Linked DNA regions of Homo sapiens: all the other regions are linked to region 3. The links are contacts of gene promoters, found by promoter capture Hi-C in blood cells and fetal thymus (Javierre and others, 2016). All regions are on one chromosome and are shown on one strand. The core of a region is centred on a gene start or on the middle of the fragment in contact, and the rest is flanking DNA. Distances in the headings are between cores, read along the strand shown. Region 1 holds the start of CYP1A2 (cytochrome P450 family 1 subfamily A member 2). Region 2 has its middle 15 kb from the start of CSK. Region 3 holds the start of COX5A (cytochrome c oxidase subunit 5A).

Evidence for each region. Contacts are between HindIII fragments. The CHiCAGO score rates a contact against its expected background, and 5 or more counts as called.
Region 1: the fragment with the promoter of CYP1A2 here is called in contact with the fragment with the promoter of COX5A in region 3 in 4 of 17 cell types (naive B cells, non-activated CD4 T cells, total B cells and 1 more); the score reaches 6.5 in naive B cells.
Region 2: a contact is called between a fragment that was not itself captured here and the fragment with the promoter of COX5A in region 3, in 2 of 17 cell types (non-activated CD4 T cells and naive CD8 T cells). The highest score is 5.9, in non-activated CD4 T cells.

What each region holds. Positions count from the first base shown.
Region 1 is chr15:74,747,090-74,750,649 of GRCh38, reverse strand. It overlaps CYP1A2 (cytochrome P450 family 1 subfamily A member 2), which reads right to left and starts at 1,805. Exons shown (of 7, transcript NM_000761.5): 1 at 1,753-1,805; 2 at 81-920. The coding sequence starts at 911. RefSeq lists promoters at 912-2,049, 1,715-3,560 and a cis regulatory region at 3,136-3,560. The HindIII fragment of the contact is 9,803 bases long and covers 1-3,560 here.
Region 2 is chr15:74,765,378-74,768,973 of GRCh38, reverse strand. No RefSeq gene overlaps it. Among named protein-coding and RNA genes, the nearest start is that of CSK, 15 kb to the left of the region's middle. RefSeq lists an enhancer at 863-1,640. The HindIII fragment of the contact is 2,992 bases long and covers 148-3,139 here.
Region 3 is chr15:74,936,000-74,939,527 of GRCh38, reverse strand. COX5A (cytochrome c oxidase subunit 5A) reads left to right here and starts at 1,455. Exons shown (of 5, transcript NM_004255.4): 1 at 1,455-1,613. The coding sequence starts at 1,514. RefSeq lists a silencer at 1,202-1,761. The HindIII fragment of the contact is 6,406 bases long and covers 1-3,528 here.

The DNA.
Region 1 (3,560 bases), core at 556-3,055, 190 kb after region 3:
GTGGGCATGCTGGAGCTGGGAGGGAGGGGCTGCACCCAGGCCCTGCAAGGTGCCCCTTGCCACCTGCACCCCGGGCTCACCTTGTCAAAGTCCTGATAGTGCTCCTGGACTGTTTTCTGCAGGAACCACAGGAACCTCTGGTTGAAGGCCTTGAACCTCTGCAGGGCAGGGTTAGGCAGGTAGCGAAGGATGGGGAAGAAGTCCAGGGGGTTCCCGGAGGAGGCAGTCTCCACGAACTCATGAGTGTTCTTCACGAGGCTGAGCATCTCATCGCTACTCTCAGGGAAGTGCTGTCCGAAGCACATGGCACCAATGACGTTGGCCACTGACACCACCACCTGATTGTAAGGGTCGAAGTGCCCAGGCCCTGCCATCAGCTCCTGCAACCTGCTGATCAGGGCCTTAGCCTCCTTGCTCACATGCTCCTCCAGGTAGCAGGAGGATGAGGAAGCTGGGTCAGAGGCGATGGAGAAGGTGTTGAGGGCATTCTGGGCCAGGCGCCGGCGGGCAGCCCACACCGGTCCAGAGTCTGTGCTGAAGGTCAAGCTCTGGCCATCAGTGATGAGGGTGGAGGTGTAGAGGTCAGGCCGGCCCTTGAAATCGTCGCCCTGCCGCACCAGGGCCTGCCGGATGGTGTCCAGGCGGCTCAGCACCAGCACGGGCGTGGAGCCAATGCGGATCTGCAGGACGTCCCCGTAGCGCTGGCTCATCCTTGACAGTGCCAGGTGCGGGTTCTTCCCCAGGGTCAGCACATGCCCGAGCAAGGGCCAGCCCCATGGCTCTGGTGGACTTTTCAGGCCTTTGGGGACCCGAGGCCTCAAACCCTTGAGCACCCAGAATACCAGGCAGAAGATGGCAGAGGCCAGGAGAAGCTCTGTGGCCGAGAAGGGAACAGACTGGGACAATGCCATCTGTACCAACTGCAGGGAAAAAAGGAGGGACCAGGCTGAGGGTTGAGATGGAGACATTCATTCATTCATTTCCTCAGTCATTTGATAAACACTGATGCGTGTTCTGTGCTTGGCTCCCAGCTGGATACCAGAAAGACTAAGCTCCATCTACCATGCGTCCTGGGCCCACAGAGCTCACCCTTTGAGCATCACAGAATCTGAGAGCTGGAAAGGAGCCTCAAGATTCCCAACATGAACGCTGGCTCTCTCCTCCACACATCATCTCAGTTTCCACTTCTGGGGCTGGAGTAGAGGCAAGTGACCACTCCAAAATGGGGAAGCCAAGGACAGCACCCTTGTCAGCCCCTGGCACAGCATGCATGCTGGGTATTGTACCAAAGAGTCCCTGCCAGTGCTGGCTTTCTGCTGATACCTTCCATATACCCAAGGGACCAGGAGTTCCCCCTACCCAGTGACACTGAGGTGGCCAAGGTCCCAGGGCTGGTTCAAATAGCCTGTGATGCCCCCTCCCCAGGGCATTCTTTATCAATACCAGGAGGGGCACCTCCTCCAGGGATGAGTCCCCATCCTCTCACAGTCTTGGAGGTTGGGGTTGGGCTTCAGCCAGGGCCAGGGCTGCCCTTGTGCTAAGGGGGAAGCCCTCCCCATCGCTCTCCTTAAAAATGGCTTAGTCCAAACTGCTCATTTAAAATCGGGAAACAGAAGTCAAGAGCTGGGTAGCAAAGCCCGGAACTCAGGACCCCTACACCTAGCCCAGGCTCCCCGTCTTTCTGTCCCCACTAGCTTCCAGGTTCTATAGTTGGGGATCCCAGAGATTGTAAATTGGTCCCAAGAAAGGTACCTGTAGAGGCAGGTGCTTGAGATTGGCAGGGTTGTAATGGCTGGTGTGGAGCTTCTGGCTCTAGGTGAGTGGCCTTTTTATAAACACCGCCCCCTATCAGATTGGCCTGGTTGTCCTGATCACCTGATATGAAAGCTGGATCACTGAACAAAGTTGGAAGGATCAACTCTTGGCCTTGGGCCATTATCCCTCAGCTCCACCTACTACCTAAGACCCAGGGTGACTCTTTGGGGATAGGCCAGAAGGGGTGCTGGGTCCCTGGGGATGAAGGTACAGCTGTCTTTAGGGTTCAGGGTAGGGAGCCTATTTCTCTGAAGAGTAGGGTAGGGTCTGGGAGTGGGGGTTAGGCCTTTGGACTGATCTGGGCTTCTTTCCCACTGCACACATGAGGAAGAGCTCTGCCAGGGCACTCAGTCTAGGCCAACCAGGCTCACGGCCCCTCTCCAGAGGGATGTTCTTCTGTAGTACCCTCCAACAACCTGCAAAACCAAACAGTAAATGGGCGTGTTCCAGCCACTCCTGATTTTCAGCCCAAGTCCCCAAGTGGAAAAGAAGAGATGATAAAGATTTTGCATCCTAAAGAGAGGCCCCCCTTATGCAAAAAGACTAAGAGACATAACCAAATGCAATATGGATTTGCATTTGATTGCCATATCGATTGGATATGGCATTTAAACAAAATTTTAAAAAAATCTATAAAAGATGTTTTGGGGACAATTGGGGACATGTAAGCACGGACTGGAGATTAGATGATATTCTGGAATAAATGTAAATTTTTTTAGGTGTGAACAGAGTGTCATGGTATGTGGGAGTGTATCCTTATTCTTAGGAGATTAATGCTGTAGCATGGAAGTGTCATGATCCCCACAACCTCCTTTTGAATGGTTCTGTTAAAAAATGTACACCTCTAGGCCAGGCGCGATGGCTCGCACCTGTAATCCCAGCACTTTGAGAGGCCGAGATGGGCGGATCACCTGAGATCAGGTGTTCAAGACCAGCCTGGCCAACCTGGTGAAACTCCGTCTCTACTAAAAATACAAAAATTAGCCAGGCATGGTGGCATGTGCCTGTGATCCCAGCTACTCGGGAGGCTGAGGCAGGAGAATGGCTTGAACTTGGGAGGTGGAGGCTGCAGTGAGCCAAGATCGTGCCACTCCACTCCAGCCTGGGCGACAGAGTGAGACTCCGTCTCAAAAAAAAAAAAAATGTACACCTTTAAAGAGTGTAATTGGATTGTTTGTAACTCAAAGGTTTATCCTTGCTTGAGGGGATGGATACTCCATTCTCCATGAATGCTTATTTCATATTGCATGCCTGTATCAAAACATTTCATGTACCCCATACATATATACACCTACTATGTACCCATAAAATTAAAACAATGTATACCTATCTATCAATAAATCGAGAGAAAGTAGATATGAGAAATGTCAGATATTCATGGACTTACGTGAGGATATATGGTGTTTGTTGTACTAAAGGAGTCTTTAATATGGACCCAGATCTCAGTCAGATCTAAGAGGAGGAGGAGGACAAGCCTTAAATTGGATGTGAAAAGGAAGTTTGCTATCTTTTTTTTTTTTTTTTAGATACAGAGTCTTGCTCTGTCACCCAGGTTGGGGTTCATGTGCCACAATCATGGCTCACTGCAGCCTCGACCTCCTGAGCTCAAACAATCCTCTTGCCTCAGCCTCCTGAGTAGCTGGGACCACAATCACAGGTGTGTGCACCATGCCTGGCTAATTTTTTTATTTTTAAACATTTTTTTGTAGAGAGGAGGTCTTGCCATGTTGCCCAGGTTGGTCTTG
Region 2 (3,596 bases), core at 394-2,893, 170 kb after region 3:
CAGATCCTGACATGAGGACAGGGCTGGGGGCTGATGGATTGGGAAGAATTGGGCATCAGATGGGTGTGGGGCGGGGGCTATTCTTCTCCCCATAGATCACAAGCCCGACTTTTTTGGGGTTAGGAGGAACAGGCAAGGTGGGAAGCTTTCCTTTCAACAGTGAATCCTGCCACTGGAAAAATTTAGTAGAATTTGAAGACCACGGTTGTAGCAAGCGTCCAGGAAGCGTTTCAGCTCGACATTTCGGGACAGATTCCTGCCTCTCCGGGGCAAGGAGCACGTGACAGCATGGCTGCTGGGAGGAAGGGAGCCCCGCACATTGTGCACATGTACCCTAAAACTTAAAGTATAAATAAATAAATAAATAAATAAATAAATAAATAAATAAAAGAAAAGCCCCCAGAGGGCGGCCCTGAGCTCACATAGGACAGTTAAGCAGGGGACTTGAGGCACGGTGGTGAGCTGGAGCTCCTCTGTCATCCCCTGGGTGGGAGGAACCTGGTGCTGGCTTGTGTGTAGTGCGTATCTACCCACTTCAGCCTCCCAAAGTGCTGGGATTACAGGCTCATTGCAGAGCTCCTGGCCTTTTCCCCGGGCAGCCACTCGCAGCAGGCCCAGTGACATCCTGGGTGGATGAGGGCAGGGAACCGAGAGCGGCTGGAGGGGAAGGAGATGGGATAGGACCATTTCTGGAAAGAATGGGTGGATTGGTCACTCAGAGAACAGCAGAACCCAGCCCTTCCAGGAACCATCCCCAGAAGCCCCTTCTGGCTCTGGATGGGCTTTTCTAGATGGGGTGCTACAGGGGTGAGCCCGATGTATATGTGGCTGCCAGGACTCCCCACAGTCCCCTGAGTCTGAGCCCCTGTGCATCCGCAGCTTATGCATGTAGCATTATCAGCGCAGGATGCTCACACTGGTTTAGCACAGTGCGCCTGTAGGCACCGGGAAGTTCTGACTCTCCCTTGGAGTGGGGCCTGGAGCCCCTCTCTGGGTGAGGGGATGGCCTCACCTCTCTCTGGGTGAGAAGGCAGCCCCTTCTCAAACTCATCGGGTGCATCCCTGGGGACACAGGGCAGAAAGACCCATGACCCCCTTTGGGCTCCAAGTTGGGGGTGCAGGGCAGAGGCCAGAGAGCTCAGCCAGAGCCTAGCAGACCCCAGGCGGGCAAGGAGGAAATTATACCGAGTCCCACCCACTGCCTGTTTGCCCAGCTGCAGGGGAGCCTGGCAGGAGCCAGGATAGGATTCTGCAGCCCTGGGGCAGCAGGGACTAGGAGGGGACTGGCCTGGCAGAATGAAGGCTGGGTTTTCAGCCTTGCCCGTACACCACCTTCCTGGAAAGAAGACCTTCTTCCCAGGAAAAGAAAAGCCCCCGGAGGGTGGCCCTTTCCTTCCCGTCCTGGTCTTTACAATCTTGCAAAAGGTCCCCAAATGCATACCTGAAATACCTCTGAGTTCATAGAGCCAAAAAGATCTAGGTTTCAGTTCTGGCTCTTCTGCTTTCCTGAAGAAGCCATCTTCCCTCTCTGAACCTCTGTCTCTCCATCTCTAAATTTGGGTTATTTCACAGGTGAGGCTATGCCTTTCCTAAGAGGGGTGATAATTTGCCTTCAAGCACACAGTAACCCCTTTCCTGCCTCAGGACCTTTGCACAGGTTGGTCCCTCTGCCTAGAACTCTTTTTCCTCTTTTTTTTTTTTTTGATTTTTTATTTTTTGAAGCAAAGTATCGCTCTATCTCCCAGGCTGGAGTGCAGTGGTCCGATCTCGATCTTGGCTCACTATAACCTCCGCCTCCCGGGTTCAAGCGATTCTCCTGTCTCAGCTTCCCGAGTAGCTGGGACTACAGGCATCCGCCACCACTCCCGGATAATTTTTGTATTTTTAGTAGAGACAGAGTTTCACCATATTGGCCAGGCTGGTCTCGAACTCCTGACCTTGTGATCCGCCCGCCTCAGCCTCCCAAAGTGCTGGGATTACAGGCGTGACCCACCGCGCCCACCCTCCTCTTTTCTTTTCTTTTCTTTTTTCAGATGGAGTCTCGCTCCTTCGCCTGGGCTGGAGTGCAATGGCACAATCTTGGCTCACTGCAGCCTCCGCCTCCTGGGTTCAAACAATTCTCCTGCCTCAGCCTCCCGAGTAGCTGAGATTACAGGCATTCACCACTATGTCTGGCTAATTTTGTGCTTTTAGTAGAGACGGGGTTTCTCCATGTTGAGGCTGGTCTCGAACTCCTGACCTCAGGTGATCCACCCGCCTCAGCCTCCCAAAGTGCTGGGATTACAGGCGTGAGCCACCGCGCCCGGCATACCTGGCTATTTTTTTTTTTTTTGAGATGGAGTCTCGCTCTGTTGCCCAGGCTGGAGCGCAGTGGCATGATCTGGGCTTACTGCAACCTCTGCCTCCCAATGCCCAGCTAATTTTTGTAGTTTTAATAGAGACAGAGTTTCACCATGTTGGCCAGGCTGGTCTTGAACTCTTGACCTCAGATGATCCTCCTGCCTCAGCCCCCCAAAGTGCTGAGATTACAGGTGTGAGCCACTGTGCCCAGCCAACCTTTTTTTTTTTTTTTTAATGGGCTCTCGTTCTGTTGCCCAGGCTGGAGTGCAGTGGAGCCATCTCAACTCACTGCAACCTCTACCTCCCAGGCTCAAGCAATCCTCCCACCTCAGCCTCCCGAGTAGCTGGGGTTACAGGCACCCGCCACCATGCCCGGCTAATTTTTATATTTTTAGTAGAGATGGGGTTTTCACCATGTTGGCCAGGCTGGTCCTGAACTCCTGACCTGAAGTGATCCACCCACCTCAGACTCCCAAAGTGCTGGAATTACAGAAGTGAGCCAACGTGCCCAGCCTCCATCTTAACCATTTTTAAGTACACAGTTTAGTGGTATTAAATGCACTCATAATGTTGTGCAGCCATCACCACTGTCCATCTCCAGAGCCCTTTCCATCTTGTAAACCTGAAACCCTACCCATTAAACACTAACTCCCCATTCCCCCTTCTCCCCAGCCCCAGGCAACCACTGTTCTGTCTATCTGTAGGGTTTTGACTATTCTAGGTATTTCACAAAAGTGGAACCATACGGTATTTGTGTTTTTGTAACTGGCTTATTTCACTTAGCATAATGTTTAAAGCTTTACTTTTCAACTAAAATTCACTTCCACCAATGATAAATATGAATGCCAACTTTTCAGCACCCTTGCTAACACCATACATCTTTCCCAATGTAATTGGTAAAAAATTATATTTGTAGTTTTAAGTTATAGTTCACTGATGCCAGGCATGGTGGCTCACACCTGTAATCCCAGCACTTTGGGAGGCCAAGATGGGTGGATCACTTGAGGTCAGGAGTTGGAGACCAGCCTGGCCAACATGATGAAACCCTGTCTCTACTAAAAATACAAATATTAGCCAGGCATGGTGATGCATACTTGTAATCCCAGCTACTTGGGAGGCTGAGGTGGGAGGATCGCTTGAACCTGGCAGGTGGAGGCTACAGTGGGCCGAGATTGTGCCACTGCTCTCCAGCCTGGGCGACAGAATGAGACTTCGTCTCAAAAAAAATTGTAGTTTGCCGATTGTAGGTGCAGCCA
Region 3 (3,528 bases), core at 206-2,705:
CCTGAAGTGAGGAAGTGGCACATGAATGGCCACCTTTTCTTTCCTCAGTGTGCCCAGGGATAGAGAATGGGAGACAGCAAGACAGAATACAATGTCTCATTAACTCTGGGCAGCATCCAGATACTTCAGGCCTGGGAGAGGTGTCCTTGACTGCCCAGGGGCTCAAAGTTAGGATGTAGCTAGTGAGATAAGATGCAACAACTGTGGAACTTGATCAACCCTATTTCAGAGCCATCGTGGATTCAGGAGCCCTCCTGTAGGAGATGGGAAACATTCAGGTGAGAGTCCTCAGAACTGGGGATGTGGCGAAAAGATCCTTGACTGCCAGCAGCAACCTAATTTCTGAGCCTCTTTCCTAATCTGTGAAATGAAGTAGTTTAACTCATTTTTTATGCAAGCTGGTTTGTGATATAAGAATATGTACTAATAAAATCCCTTACGCATAGGCCTTTTTTTTTTTTGAGATGGAGTTTTGATCTTGTTGCCCAGGCTGGAGTGCAATGGTGCGATCTCAACTCACTGCAACCTCTGCCTCCTGGGTTCCAGCAATTCTCCTGCCTCAGCCTCCCAAATAGCTGGGATTACAGGCATGCGCCACCACACCTGGCTAATTTTGCATTTTTAGTAGAGACAGGGGTTTCTCCATGTTGGTCAGGCTGGTCTCGAACTCCCGACCTCAGGTGATCCGCCCGCCTTGGGCTCCCAAAGTGCTAGGATTACAGGCGTGAGCAACCGCGTCCAGCGGCATTCTTTCCCCCATTCGCTGTTTTATTTTATGCCACAATGAGAAGGCGGGGCTAAGCAAAGTAGGTTTTTGTTTTGTTTGGTTTTTTTGAGACGGAGTTTCGCTCTTGTTGCCCAGGCTGGAGTGCAATGGCACCATCTCGGCTCACCGCAACCTCCTCCTCCTGGGTTCAAGCGATTCTCCTGCCTCAGCCTCCCGAGTAGCTGGGATTGCGGGCATGCGTTGCGCCACCACGCCTGGCTAATTTTGTATTTTTAGTAGAGACGGGGGTTCCTCCATGTTGCCCAGGCTGGTCTTGAACTCCCGACCGCAGGTGATCCGCCCGCCTCGGCCTCCCAAAAGTGCTGGGATTACAGGCATGAGCCACAGCGCCCGGGCGCAAAGTACGTATTTTTTATTATAGTTTGTTGTTATTGCTGTCATTCCTATTTTGAGGTGATTAAGTGCCCTCCTGGGCCTGACTCGAACAAGATCACGGTCGGTTGCTCCTCCCTCGCCTCCATTCCTACTTACAGGATGGCAGCTGCACGTCACCTGACCAGAGACAAGGCGGGACGCGAGGCTAACAGTTTGTCCTCAGCGCGCCGCCGTAGCCCCCGCCGCCGCCGGCCGCGCGGTGGCTCCTCCCGCCCACGCGCCAGAGTCGCAGTGGGCGGGCCTACGTGCTCCGCCCGCTGTGAGCCTGTCCGGCCCCCGCCCGCTCCGGAGCAACCCGCGAGCTTACACCGGCTTCTCTCTGTCCTCAGCCCGCGCGCCGCCATCGCCGTCATGCTGGGCGCCGCTCTCCGCCGCTGCGCTGTGGCCGCAACCACCCGGGCCGACCCTCGAGGCCTCCTGCACTCCGCCCGGACCCCCGGCCCCGCCGTGGGTAAGGCCCCTGCTTGCCACTGCCCGCGCCCTCGTGTCCTTGCGGTGACCTGGGTCCCCGCTGCCACTCCGGGGCGGGCTCTCCCCGGCCTAGCCCTTGCCCTACCCTGGTTACTGAACCCGGTGACCGCGGGCCGCCCTGCCCGCCGCCTCGAGTAGTGGAGGACCTGAAAGCGCGCCCCCGGGGCCTCCCCCCGCGCAACTTCCTGGCTGTGCCACCGCGGACAGGTCAGATGTGGACCTGCTGTGGGCGCCGAGGAGGGGACGCAGCGCTCCCCTTCGGTTCCCGGGCCATGACCCTGCCCCAGCGCCGACCCTGCGGCCACCTGACCGAGAGTGGCCGCCGCCGGCCTGCAGCGCCTCGGCGAAGGTGACATTGAGCCTCCGGGCACGCCGCTTGGGGTCCGAGGACACAATATACTTCCGTATGGGACACACGATTATACTTTTCAATCAGGCATTTCTCGGTTAGCGATTAGTGTGTCACCTTCACAGCCTTTTCCATCATTTTTAGGGTCTGCTGTGCCACGTTCTAATTCTTCCACGTTTAAAATAGATGGAAGTGTGTGGTTGTTTCCTGATCTCCGGAAGATAGCCAGAGTTTTGATAGGGCTTATGATAAAAATATCACTCTTTTGAAAACTGAATGTCACAGACACAGGAATACTGGGTTTTACAAGCATAGGAACGCTTCGTGTTTTTTCCCCTTTGTAATAGAAGCCTGATTGCTGGAGTATGAGACGTGCTTCTGATTTTTGTCTATTTTCCTTCCCTTTATATGTGTGCTGGGAGGTTTTGAGTCCACCACCATAGAATAATTACAGTAATTGCACTTCGATCTTGGTCCGTGAAATTTAGCTTCTATGCATGCATATTATATTTTATTTTTGAACCTGCATCACTGGCAACTATGCATGCGTATTTAAACATAAGAACTCAGAAACTCGTTTCAGGGTATGCTGAAGTTAAAAATTAAAAAAAGAACTCAGCCGGGCGCGGTGGCTCATGCCTGTAATCCCAGCACTTTGGTAGGCCGAGGCGGGCGGATCACCTGAGGTCAGGAGTTCAAGACCAGCCTGGCCAACATGGTGAAACCCTGTCTGTACTAAAAATACAAAAAATTTAGCTGGGTGTGGTGGTGGGCGCCTGTAATCCCAGCTACTCGGGAGGCTGAAGCACAAGAATCGCTTGAACCTGAGAGGCGGAGGTTGCAGTGAGCCGAAATCGCGCCATTGCACTCCAGCCTGGCCGACAGAGCGAGACTCCGTCTCAAAAAAAAAAAAAAAAAAAAAAGAATATGTTTTGCTTCATTCATTTTAGACTTTTATCATTTGTCGTAGAACCATAAGGCTGGAGGGTACTTTATTTTTGTTTATTTATTTATTTTTAAATTAGAGACGGAGTGTCCCTATGTTGCCCAGGCTGGGCTTGAACTCCTGGGCTCAGGTGATCCTCCCACCTCAGCCTCCCAAAGTTTGGGATTATAGGCATGAGCCACTGCAGCCAACCTAGAGTGTACTTTAGAGATCGTGGAAGCCATTTTATTTTATAGAAAAGGAAACCAAAGTCCATCTTGGGAAACTGACTCCTTGTTTTTTTTTGTTTGTTTGTTTGTTTTTGTTTTGTTTTGTTTTGTTTTGTTTTTTCTTGAGACAGAGTTTCGTTCTTGTTGCCCAGGCTGGAGTGCAATAGCACGGTCTTGGCTCAAGCGATTCTCCTGCCTCAGCCTCCGGAGTAGCTGGGGTTACAGGCACCTGCCACCATGCCCGGCTACTTTTTGTGTTTTTAGTAGAGATGGGGTTTCACCATGTTGGCCATGCTGGTTTCGAGCTCGTGAGGTCAGGTGATCCGTCTGCCTCAGCCTCCCAAAGTGCTGGGATTACAGGCGTGAGACACCACACCTGGCCGAAACTGAC